2 separate regions of the Homo sapiens genome follow, and region 1 is linked to region 2. Evidence: promoter capture Hi-C in human tissues and cell types (Jung and others, 2019). All regions are on one chromosome and are shown on one strand. The core of a region is centred on a gene start or on the middle of the fragment in contact, and the rest is flanking DNA. Distances in the headings are between cores, read along the strand shown. Region 1 overlaps CERS5 (ceramide synthase 5). Region 2 holds the start of DIP2B (disco interacting protein 2 homolog B).

What was found. Contacts are between HindIII fragments. The study calls those that stand out against the background at their distance.
Region 1: a contact is called between a fragment that was not itself captured here and the fragment with the promoter of DIP2B in region 2, in 1 of the 25 tissues and cell types used here (hippocampus).

The regions. Positions count from the first base shown.
Region 1 is chr12:50,152,604-50,158,728 of GRCh38, forward strand. The region is part of intron 1 of CERS5 (ceramide synthase 5); the gene reads right to left. All of the region lies in intron 1 of LOC124902931 (a long non-coding RNA gene), which reads left to right. Among named protein-coding and RNA genes, the nearest start is that of CERS5, 12 kb to the right of the region's middle. The HindIII fragment of the contact is 3,628 bases long and covers 1,298-4,925 here.
Region 2 is chr12:50,500,680-50,506,746 of GRCh38, forward strand. It overlaps DIP2B (disco interacting protein 2 homolog B), which reads left to right and starts at 4,306. Exons shown (of 38, transcript NM_173602.3): 1 at 4,306-4,561. The coding sequence starts at 4,462. RefSeq lists a silencer at 4,609-4,718. The HindIII fragment of the contact is 9,488 bases long and covers 1-6,067 here.

The DNA of each region.
Region 1 (6,125 bases), core at 1,862-4,361, 350 kb before region 2:
CCAAAAAGCACTTCTGATGCATACCAAAGTATATGGCTCCCAAGGAAAACCATTTGTATGACTACTGCAAGCTGAATAAACTAAGTCGCTTTTTCCATAGAATACCACTTTTACCTGAAAGGACTGACAGACTAACGTTAGTCAGCTCTGAGTATTTAGCAAAAACTTTCTCAAAAATAAATGAGGCCAGACGCAGTGGCTCATGCCTGTAATCCCAGCACTTTGGGAGGCGGAGGCGGGCGGATCACCTGAGGTCAGGAGTTTGAGACCAGCCTGGCCAACACAGTAAAACCCCATCTCTACTAAAAATATAAATATTAGCCAGGCGTGGTGGCGGCCGCCTGTAATCCCAGCTACTCGGGAGGCTGAGGCAGGAGAATTGCTTGAACCCAGAAGGCAGAGGTTGTAGTGAGCTGAGATCCTGCCACTGCACTCCAGCCTGGGCGACAGAGCAAGACTTTGTCTCAAAATAATAATAATAATAGTAATAACTATAATAAGTGAGCCCGTCATTTCAAGAAAAGCATTGTTGCCAATGATAAAATTCAAGCTTTCAAGTGAAACTTAGAATGTTTAGAAAACTTTTACCTGCCTTTCAGCCTGACAACTTCTCAATACTTAAGACTTTTCTGATGAGATTGGTTATAATGAGATAAACTAATATGATTTTTTTTTTTTTTTTTTTTTTTTTTTCTGAGACGGAGTCTCACTCTGTTGCCAGGCTGGAGTCCCGTGGCATGATCTTGGCTCACTGCAACCTCTGCCTCCTGGGTTCAAGCGATTCTCCTGCCTCAGCCTCCCGAGTAGCTGGGACTAGAGGCATGCACCACCACGTCCAGCTAATTTTTGTATTTTTAGTAGAGACGGGGTTTCACCATGTTGGCCAGGATGCTCTCAATCTCTTGACCTTGTGATGCGCCCACCTCGGCCTCCCAAAGTGCTGGGATTACAGGCAAGATTTTAAAATATTGTATAATGTCACATATTGACATGTGGGACATTTGCATAACTGAATGAACCAGTATTTTCCAAATGATGGATACATGATGTCCATTCAAACTGTAATATAGGCCAGGCATGGTGGCTCACGCCTATAATCCCAGCACTTTGGGAGGCTGAGGCAGGCGGATCACCTGAGGTCAGGAGTTTGAGACCAGCCTGGCCAATATGGTGAAACCCCATCTCCACTAAAAATACAAAATTAACTGGGCGTGATGGCGCATACCCATAATCCCAGCTACTTGGAAGGCTGAGGCAGGAGAATCATTTGAACCTGGGAGGCAGAGGTTGCAGTGAGCTGTGACTGCACCATTGGACTCCAGCCTGGGCGACAAGAGCAAAACACCACCTCAAAACAACAACAACAAAACACAATGAACATAGAACAATGGATTTTAACATAATAAAATGAAAAGCTCATTAATATGGCTTCAGATTCTACCTAGGAATCAACGTTTAAGAAACTGCTACTTGTGGCTGGGCGTGGCACGCCTGTAATCCCAGCACTTTGGGAGGCCGAGGCAGGCAGATCACGAGGTCAAGAGATCTAGACCATCCTGGCCAACATGGTGAAACCCCATCTCTACTAAAAATGCAAAACTTAGCTGGGTGCGGTGGCACATGCCTGTAATCCTAGCTACTCGGGAGGCTGAGGCAGGAGAATCGCTTGAACCAGGGAGTCGAAGGTTGCAGTGAGATCGCGCCACTACACTCCAGCCTGGGAACAGAGCAAGACTCCGTCTCAAAACAAGACAAAACAAAACAAAAAACTGCTACTTGTGTTTTGGTGTAGTATCAAAGATAAATATCAAATTATTTGAAAGGGCTATTAAAATACTTCCTGCTTTTCAATGACAAAGCTGTGTGAGGCCATCTTTTCTTCATATACTTCAATCAAAACAATGTATCACAAGAGATTGAATGCAGAAGCTGCTAGGATAATCCAGCTGTCTTCTATTAAGCCAGATATTAAAGAGATTTGCAAAAATGTAAAATCAATGCTGTTCTTCTATTTTTTCTTTTGGAAAATAATATTTTTCAAAAAGCTTATTTATGTTAACATGTAAATCAATTTATTATTATTTTTTGTCTATTTTCTCCCTTTTTGTGGAGAACGAGGTCTTGCTATGTTACCCACACAGGTCTTGAGCTCCTGAGCTCAAGCTATCCTCCTGTCTCTGCCTCCCTAAGTGCTGGGATTACAAGTGTGAACCCCTGCACCTGGCCTGTTGTTATTTTTAATGAATTAATAAGCATTTCTTAAATTTCTTTTTGAGACAGAGTTTCGCTCCGTCACCCAGGCTGGAGTGCAGTGGCGCTATCTTGGCTCACTGCAACCTCTGCTCTCAGGTTCAAGTGATTCTCCTGCCTCAGCTGCCCAAGTAGCTGGGACTATAGGCGTGCACCACCATGCCTGGTTAATTTTTGCATTTTTAGTAGAGACGGGGTTTCACCGTGTTGGCCAGGCTGGTCTTGAACTCCTGACCTCAGGTGATCCACCCACCTAGGCCTCCCAAAGTGCTGGGATTATAGGGGTGAGCCATCGTGCCCGGTCAGCATTTCTTAAATTTCTCAATTTTAATTTAAAATATGGTAAAGTTGATGGGTATATGTAACCCACATAAACAAAAGCTCCTTGGAGTCCTCAGTAATTTTTAAAAGTGAAAAACAATCCCTGAGAACAAAAAGTTACAATGTATTCTTCTGAGTAAATTCTTAAAAGAAGAGGATTCCTTGTATACAAGGTATTGCACTTTTCAAGATACCTATACCACCAAACCCAACATTTCTTGCATGGTCTGTGCTCAAGTGATCTTTGCAGCTTCCTTTGAGGGCCATTAAAAAAAAAAATTGCCAGGCACGGTGACTCAGGCCTGTAATCCCAGCACTTTGGGAGGCTGAGGCAGGTGGATCACGAGGTCAAGAGATCGAGACCATCCTGGCTAACAGGGTGAAACCCCATTTCTACTAAAAATACAAAAAAATTAGCCAGGCGTGGTGGCAGGCGCCTGTAGTCACAGCTACTCGGGAGGCTGAGGCAGGAGAATGGCGTGAACCCGGGAGGCAGAGCTTGCAGTGAGCCGAGATTGCGCCACTGCACTCCAGCCTGGGCGACAGAGCGAGACTCCATCTCAAAAAAAAAAAAAAAAAAAAAAAAAAGGCCCAGCCTGGGTAACATGATGAAATCTTGTCTCTACAAAAAATATAACAATTAGTGGCCGGGCATGGTGGCTCACGCCTGTAATCCCCAGCACTTTGGGAGGCCAAGGCGGGTGGATCACCTGTGGTCAGGAGTTTGAGACCAGCCTGACCAATATGGTGAAACCCCGTCTCTACTAAAAATACAAAAATTAGCTGGGTGTGGTGGCACACCTGCAGTCCCAGCTACTCGGAGGCTGAGGCAGGAGAACTGCTTAAACCTGGGAAGCAGAGGTTGCAGTGAGCTGAGATCGCGCCACTGCACTCCAGCCTGGGCGACAGAGCGACATTCTGTCTCAAAAAAAAAAAAAAAAAAAAGGCCGGCCGTGGTGGCTCACGCCTGTAATCCCAGCACTTTGGGAGGCTGAGGCGGGTGGATCACAAGGTCAGGAGATCGAGACCATCCTGACTAACACGGTAAAACCCCGTCTCTACTAAAAATACAAAAAAAAATTAGCCGGGTGTGGCAGCGTGCGCCTGTAGTCCCAGCTGCTGGGGAGGCCAAGGCAGGAGAATGGCGTGAACCTGGGAGGCAGAGCTTGCAGTGAGCCAACATCACGCCACTGCACTCCAGCCTGGGTGACAGAGCAAGACTCTGTCTCAAAACAAACAAACAAACTATATATATATATATATAAAACAATTAGTAGCCAGGTGTGGTGGCATGCACCTCTGGTCCCAGCTACTGGGAGGCTGAGGTGGGAGGATTGTTTGAGCCAAGAGGTGGAGGCTGTAGTGAGTCATGATCATGCCATTGCATTCCAGCGTGGCTGACAGAGTGAAGCTTAATACATACTTAAAAAATTTATCAGTATTAGTTTTTAATAGAGAAAATATTGATAGATATAACTCATATAAACAAAAGCTATTTGGGGTCTTCAATAATTTTTTAAAATATAAAGGAGTCCTGAGCAAAAGATTTGAGAACCCACTGCTGTACAGCATAGGAATCTCAGGAGTCAAAAAGGAAATTATGTAGCTGGGCCTGTAGTTCCAGCTACCATGGAGGCTGAGGCAGGTGGACTGATTGAGGCCAGGAGGTCAAGGCTGTAGTGACATCAGCCCTGTGAATGGCCACTGAATTCCAGCCTGGGTAATTGTGATGGTTAATACTGAGTATCAACTTAATTGGATTGAAGAATGCAAAACACTCATCCTGCACATGTCTGTGAGGGTGTTGCCAAAGGAGATTAACATTTGAGTCAGTGGGCTGGGAAAGGCAGAGCCACCCTTAATCTGGGTGGGCACCATCTAATCAGCTGCCAGCATGGCAAGAGGCAGAAAAACGTGAAAAGACTAGACTGGCCTAGCCTCCCAGCCTACATCTTTCTCTTGTGCTGGACTCTTCCTCCCCTCAAACATCGGACTCCAAGCTCTTCAGTTTTGGGACTTGGACTGGCTTTCCTTGCTCCTCAGTGTGCAGACGGCCTATTGTGGGACCTTGTGATAGTGTGAGTTAATACTTAATAAACTACCCTTCATATATATATCCATCCTATTAGTTCTGTCCCTCTAGAGAACCCTGACTGATACAGTAATATAGCAAGATTCCGTCTCTTAGGAAGGAAAATTAGAAAAAAAAACAGTAATTACTGTACTAGAGTCGCAACATCTCAAGCAGAAGTAGGTTTCAGAGTGATTCATTCAATAAACACTTACTGAATAGCTAATATGAATGTACAAAGCACTGCATTAGATACCTACAGTTTCATGGGGGAGACAAGTCCATAAACAGAGCCCAATCTGAAGGTCATTCCCCAAAAATAAGGCAGTTCATTCAAGATCTCTGAAATGGTTCTCTTCAAATTCCAGCTGTGACCTGACAAACATTTCTGACATTATTCACTTTACCTAGATCCTTGACTTCATTAAAGGCATACAACGGAGAATATTAGATGAGGAAAAAAGAAATTGTCCAAAAAAAAAGAGATCAAACCTGAAACAATAATTGACACTATCTAGACAGAAGCAAAATAATCTACTGTAGGCCAGGCATGGTGATTCATGCCAGTAATCTCAGCACTTTGGAAGGCCGAGGTGGAAGCATCACTTGAGCTCAGGAGTTCAAGACCAGCCATGGCAAAACCTCATCCCTACAAAAAATACAAAAATTAGCCAGGCACAGTGGCACATGCCTGTAGTCCCAGCTTCTTGGGAGGCTGAGGTGGCAAGATGGCTTGAGCCAGGGAGGTGGAAGTTGCAGTGATACCAGATTGTGCCACTGCACTCCAACTTAGGTGACAGAGTGAGACCATGACCAAAAAAAAAAAAAAAAAAAAAAAATCTGTAATAGATGTTTTTCTCAAGGAATGCATGTAGATTGTATATTTTTGTAAATCCAATCATTCTAATGTACTAGAAGAATTCTACTGAGAGGACACTAAAGTGAATTCAGGCCAAAGTGGTAGGATAAACCCACTTGTTCCTTTCATTAAACATATTTACCTTTTTTCAATGGATAATTATACAACTTAATGCATTTGCTTAAAATAGAAACACAAACACACATAAGGGATAACCACTGATTTTGTTGCTCTCTCCAGGGTAGAAATCATGGTTTATTCACCTTTTAATCCTTGGCACATAGTTTGATACCTTTTTATTTATTTTTACATTTTTCTTGTCCAACTTCTAAAACCATCACATATAGTTTGATATGACATATCCTAAGCTTTCAATAAATAGATGTTGAAGAATGAACAGATGAACAAATGGGTGAAAACTTAATTCTCAACTAAGAGGCAAAGTGTTTCATGGAAGTGTGCCACTTGTAAGGATGAAATTAAAACTCAGCCTTATCCTCCTGGGTCATCAGATAACCTACCAGTTTGGTGTTTATCAAGTGTAGGAGATGACTGATTTCTGGGGAATCAGTAGATATTCAAGTTAACCGATTTCAATCTATAACTGGAGATTGCCCTAAACAC
Region 2 (6,067 bases), core at 3,056-5,555:
TTCATGTTCTGAAGTACCCTTTCTCCTATGTATACATCAATATTAGATAAAATAGAAAAAGGTAAACTTACAAAGCTATGACATGCAGAAACAAGAACTATTTCTTTGTATTTAAAACAGTGTTTAGAGGCTGGGCAGAGTGGTTCATATTTGTAATCCTAGCACCTTGAGAGGCCAAGGTGGGAGGATTGCTTAAGCCCAAGAGTTTGAGAACAGCTTGGGCAACATAGGGAGACCCCTGTCCCCACAAAAAGTAAAAACATTAGTCAGGCTTGAGTCCGGGAGGTTGAGGCTGCAGTGAGCTATGATTGTGCCACTGCACTGAAGACTGGCTGACAGTGAGACTCTGTCTCTAAAGGAAAAAAAATGCTTATTTGAAGAAATAATCCCTGAAAACTTCTCAAATTTGATAAAGAATATTAATGTGCACATTCAAGGTCAGTTAACTCCAAGAAGAATAAACTCAAAGAGATCCACACCTAGGCACATTATGGTCAAACTGCCAAAAGACAAAAACAAAGAGAGAACATTGAATACAGCAAAAAAAAAAAAAAAAAAAAGGCAACTCATCATGTATAAGGGATCCTCAGCAAAATTAATAACTGACTTCTCATCAGAAACCATGGAGCCCAGCTGGGCATGGTGGCTCACGCCTATAATCCCAGCACTTTGGGAGGCCGAGGTTGGTGTATCACCTGAGGTTGGGAGTTTGAGACCAGCCTGACCAACATGGAGAAAACCCATCTCTACTAAAAATACAATATTAGCCAGGCGTGGTGGGGCATGCCTGTAATCCCAGCTACTCGGGAGGCTGAGGCAGGAGAATTACTTGAACCTGGGAGGCAGAGGTTGCAGTGAGCCGAGATCTTGCCATTGCACTCTAGCCTGGGCAACAGGAGCGAAACTCCATCTCAAAAATAATAATAATAAAAAAGAAACCATGGAGCCCAGAAGGCAGTGGAAAGACATTCAAAATGCTAAAAAAAATTGTCAACCAACAATTCCATATCCACAAAACTATACCTCAAAAATGAAGGAGAGGCCAGGTGTGGTGGCTCATGCCTGTAATCTCAGCACTTTGAGAGGCCGAGGAGAGGATCACTTGAGCCCGAGTTTGAGACCAGCCTGGGCAACACAGTGAGACCTCATGTCTACAAAAAAGTAAAAAATCAGCCGAGTGTAGAGGCATGAATTTATAATCCCAGATACTTGGGAGGCTGAGGTGGGAGGATTACTTAAGCCCAGGAGATTGAAGTTGCAGCAAGCCAACATGGTGCCACTGCACCCCAGCCTGAGTGACAGGGCAAGACCCCGTCTCAAAAAAAAAAAAAAAAAAAAAAAAGAAAAAAAAAGAAAAAAAGAAAAATGATGGAGAATGCAGACATTCCTAGATAAACAACAACTGAATTTGTCACTTGCCCCGCAATGTGAGCCATTCAGCCTGAAATGAAAGATTATTAGACAATAGCCTGAGTTCACACGAAGAAATAAACAGCACTGGTAAAGGTGCTGGTGCGGTGGCTCACGCCTGTAATCCCAGAAGTTTGGGAGGCTGAGGCCAGTGGATCACTTGAGGTCAGGAGTTCGAGACCAGCCTGGCCAACATGGTGAAACCACATTTCTACTAAAAATACTAAAAATACAAAAATTAGCCGGGCATGGTGGCCGGTGCCTGTAATCACAGCTACTTGGGAGGCTGAGGCAGGAAAACCGCTTGAACCCGGGAGGCAGAGGTTGTAGTAAGCTGAAATTGCGCCACTGCACTCTAGCCTGGGTGACAGAGCGAGACTCTGTCTAAAAAAAAAAAAAACGGTGACACAGTATAAACATAGTATATTTTTGTTTGTTAATTTTTAAAAGTTTTTCTCCAAAAGCATGAGCCACCACACCTGGCCTCGGAGAAAAATTTAATGTTAAACTTTTAAAATAGTCACAGAAAGAATAGCAGTATAATCTGTACCTTCCAAACCAGAAGAACAAAGAAGTACTATCTAACACTTTACTAATTCAACAATAGGAGAAAAAGGGGGGGAAGAAAGCAAAGACAGAGATTGATAAACAGAAAACATTTAACAAGAATGAAGAAATAAGTCCTAATATATCAGTAATTATATTAAATGAACTTAAATGGATTTAATTAATTTGTTACAACCAGAGTCACAGACAAAAGTTGAAAATAAAAGACTAAAAAAAGTCAGCAAGTAGTAATTAAAAAGGCTGGTACAACAATAATATCTAGACAAAAAGATTAAGGTAAAGAATAAACAATTAGAAATAAAGAGAATATAAGGAATAATCTAGCAAAAAGGTAGAATAATTTGGTGGAAGAATGCAGTAAAGGCTGGATGAGGTGGCTTATGCCTGTAATCCCAGCACTTTGAGAGGCTGAGGTAGGAGGATCTCTCAAGTTTGTTCTAAGCTTCTATAATTTTAAATAAATGTTTTACTTTAGAATGGTTTTAAATTTACTGAAAAGTTGCAAAGATAGTACAGATAATTCCTGTGTATGCTTCATCCAGTTTTTCCTTTTTTTTTTTTTTTTTTTTTGAGACGGAGTTTCGCTCTTGTTGCCCAGGCTGGAATGCAGTGGTGCAATCTGGGCTTACCGCAACCTCCACTTCCCGGGTTCAAGCGATTCTCCTGTCTCAGCCTCCCGAGTAGCTGGGATTACAGGCACATGCCACCATGCCCAGCTAATTTTTGTATTTTTAGTAGACGCGGGGTTTCACCATACTGGTCAGGCTGATCTCCAACTCCTGACCTCAGGTGATCTGCCTGCCTCGGCCTCCCAAAGTGCTGGGATTACAGATGTGAGCGACCACGCCCGGCCTTGACTTTTTTTTTTTTTTTTGAAACAGTTTCACTGCGTTGCCCAGGCTGGAGCGCAGCCGCCATGTTCTCAGCTCACTGTAACCTTGGCCTCCCGGGTTCAAGCGACGTTCCTACCTCAGCTCCCCCAGGTAGCTGGGATTACAGGCATGTGCCACTACTCCCGGCTAATTTTTGTGTTTTTAGTAGAGACGGGGTTTCGCCATGTTGGCCAGGCTGGTCTCGAACTCTTGACCTCAGGTGATCCGCCCACCTTGGCCTCCCAAAGTGCTGGGATCATAGGTGTGAGCCACTGCACCTAGCCTTGGACCCTCTTCATATTAAATTAAAATTAATGTTTTTGGAACACCTATTAGGCCACAGAGTGAGGAGGATGAGTTAAAGTAAGTTCCCTCCTTGTAAGTAGTTAGAAGTATAGAAAGAAAGAAGTGGACCTGCTCTCTATTGTCTTTTTCTTTTCTTTAGACGGAGTGTTTGCTCTCTTGCCCGGGCTGGAGTGCAATGACGCGATCTCAGCTTACTGTAACCTCTGCCTCCTGGGTTCAAGTGATTCTCCTGCCTCAGCCTCTTGAGTAGCTAGGAGTACAGGCATCCGCCACCACGCCCGGCTAATTTTTGTATTTTTATTGGAGACGGGGTTTCACCATGTTGGCCAGGCTGGCCTAGTACTCTTTTTTTTTTTTTTTTGAGTCGGAGTCTCGCGCTCACGCTCAGGCTGGAGTGCAGTGGCGTGATCTTGGCTCACTGCAAGCTCCGCCTCCCGGGTTCACGCCATTCTCCTGCCTCAGCCTCCCGAGTAGCTGGGACTACAGGCGCCCGCCACCACGCCCGGCTAATTTTTTGTACTTTTAGTAGAGACGGGGTTTCACCGTGTCAGCCAGGATGGTCTCGATCTCCTGACTTCGTGATCCACCCGTCTCGGCCTCCCAAAGTGCTGGGATTACAGGCGTGAGCCACCGCGCCCGGTCGGCTAGCCTGGTACTCTTAACCTCAGGTGATCCACCAGCCTCAGCCTCCCAAAGTGCTAGGATTACAGGCGAGAGCCACCGCGCCTGTCTTTTTAAAAGCTAAAACTGAAACGGAAACAGAGCTCCTGGCAGATAGGACCAGGAGCCACAGCGAAGGAGGTGGCCTGTGATTAGGTTTTTATAAATGGGCAGGTATTAATCAGGGAAAATGGAGTAAAGGACACGATAGACATACATTGCTAAGTCTAGTATTGGAAAAAGTAAGGCCTGGGACCCCTAAAAACTTGCTCGAGAGTGAAAGGTAAATGCTATGTGTCCACACTACTGTGGTAAAGCCGACAGTCCATACCATGAGCCCATTTCGCGCAGGGAAATTCGAGTGGTGGGCTTGGGCCCGTCGTTCTGGTAGCTTCCCAGTAGAGGGCGCCGTAAGCATATGCGTCTTCAGCCTGACTGGGCTGGAGAGGCGGTGCGTCCTCCTGGCCGGGGGGCGGGGGCCGTCGCGCTCACGTGACCTTTGCTCATGGCGGCGGCGGCGGCGGCGGCGGTGCTGGTGGTGCTCGGCGGCCGGAGCCGGATCCTGTAGCCGGGTGTGGGCCCGTGTCTGTCCGTCCCTCCTTCGGCCCCCTCTCTTGTCTTCCGGAGTGTGGCTGGCGGAGCTGGGATGGCGGAACGAGGCCTGGAGCCGTCGCCGGCCGCGGTGGCGGCGCTGCCGCCTGAAGTGCGGGCGCAGCTGGCGGAGCTGGAGCTGGAGCTCTCGGAGGGTAGGAGCCGGGCCGGGGAGAGGGCGCCCGGGGCCCTGCGGATCGCGGCGACTTGGGAGACAGGTCCCCGCCGCGCGCTCTGGCGGCCGTGCGGCGAGGGGGACGAGGGTGTAGAGAACCTGGCCTGGCGCTCCACGACCGTTTTCCCTCCTCTCCCACCCCATTAAGTGGTTTCCTGTGGCTTTCATTGTTTTCCCATGGAGGGGACTAAGTAAGGGCTTGTGGAAAGGTCCTCCCGGGCCCACACTGCTTCTGCGCTTCCTGCCCCCCAAAACCCGAGACAAAGCTGCGCCCTCCCGCTTCTGCCCAGGCGTCTGGCCCAGGTGGGGTGAGGGGTAGGGCTGCGAGGAGGGTGGCTGACAGCTTTCTCCTTTCCTCTCCCCTTTTCGTGGAGGGCTCCACGCCTTGTTCCAGCCCCCCCTTCCCCCTTTCAAAAAGAGACACATGGGAAATCCGCAGCATCATTTCTTCTCTTTCCTTTAACAATGCGCGATGCCTCCCCAGTGACAGGAGTGAGACACAAGCGGGTGAGCCATTTAGGGTCCTAGGAAGATAAGAAGCAATGGCATTAACCCAGAGAGACACACGGTGCTGCTTTTAGACCACCTTTGTCATAAGAAGTTTTTTTTTTTCCTGGTGCCTGTTATTCGGGCCGAATTTTCCGCATCTGGTCACCTTTTGGAGTCTTTGATGAAGGAAGGAGAGGAGGCTACCGTTTACTTGCAAATCCTGGCTGGCATTCTTTCTTTTGACAATGGATTGGGACAGGGAGGGTTCGATTTATTTTCAGAATTAAAAAAAAAAAATGGGATAAATCAAGCCACTGTTATTAGAGAACTCCTTGTACAACAATGAGAGAAACACAGTGCTCCGTTGTGGGCATGTGATCAGGCTTCTGGGGCAGTTGTGATCAGTTCTGTGTAAAGTTCCTGTTTTTATCACTGGCTGCCCCTGAGACAAAAGCAGCATTTTCTCCAAGCTTGATACCAGTACTTTGATTGTGTCTCCAGAGTTGCATATTCTTACTGAGTTCCTTGTGGAAGGCCCTCTTCACTAGCATTTTTCAAGTGGATCAAAAACTCTTGATTGGAAAAGAAGAATGTGACCAACTCCCAGGAGCTTATTAAACATTACTTATTGTTTACTTATTAAGGCATTATGGTTCCCTCCCCTCTGAGAATCCTTTACAATGAAAAACCAAAAATAGAGTTGAATGTTATAAATCCTGTTGGGCACTGAAGGAAATAATTATTTTTAATAACCCTTTTAATAACCCAATGTGTAGGAAAGTGCTGTTTTTACCTGTACTTAACTATCAACATGTTATTTTTCAATTAATCCAATTTTCAAGTTATTCTTCGGCCAGTCCCGGGAATCACTGGTATTAGATTAGTTTGTTTCTGTGAAGTGTTTAAGAAGATAGGAATCCTCTGGGTTTGTCTGCCCAGTTATACCTTAAGTTCCCCCCGCTTCGAAAATCGAGGAGCTTTTTGCATTACCATCAAT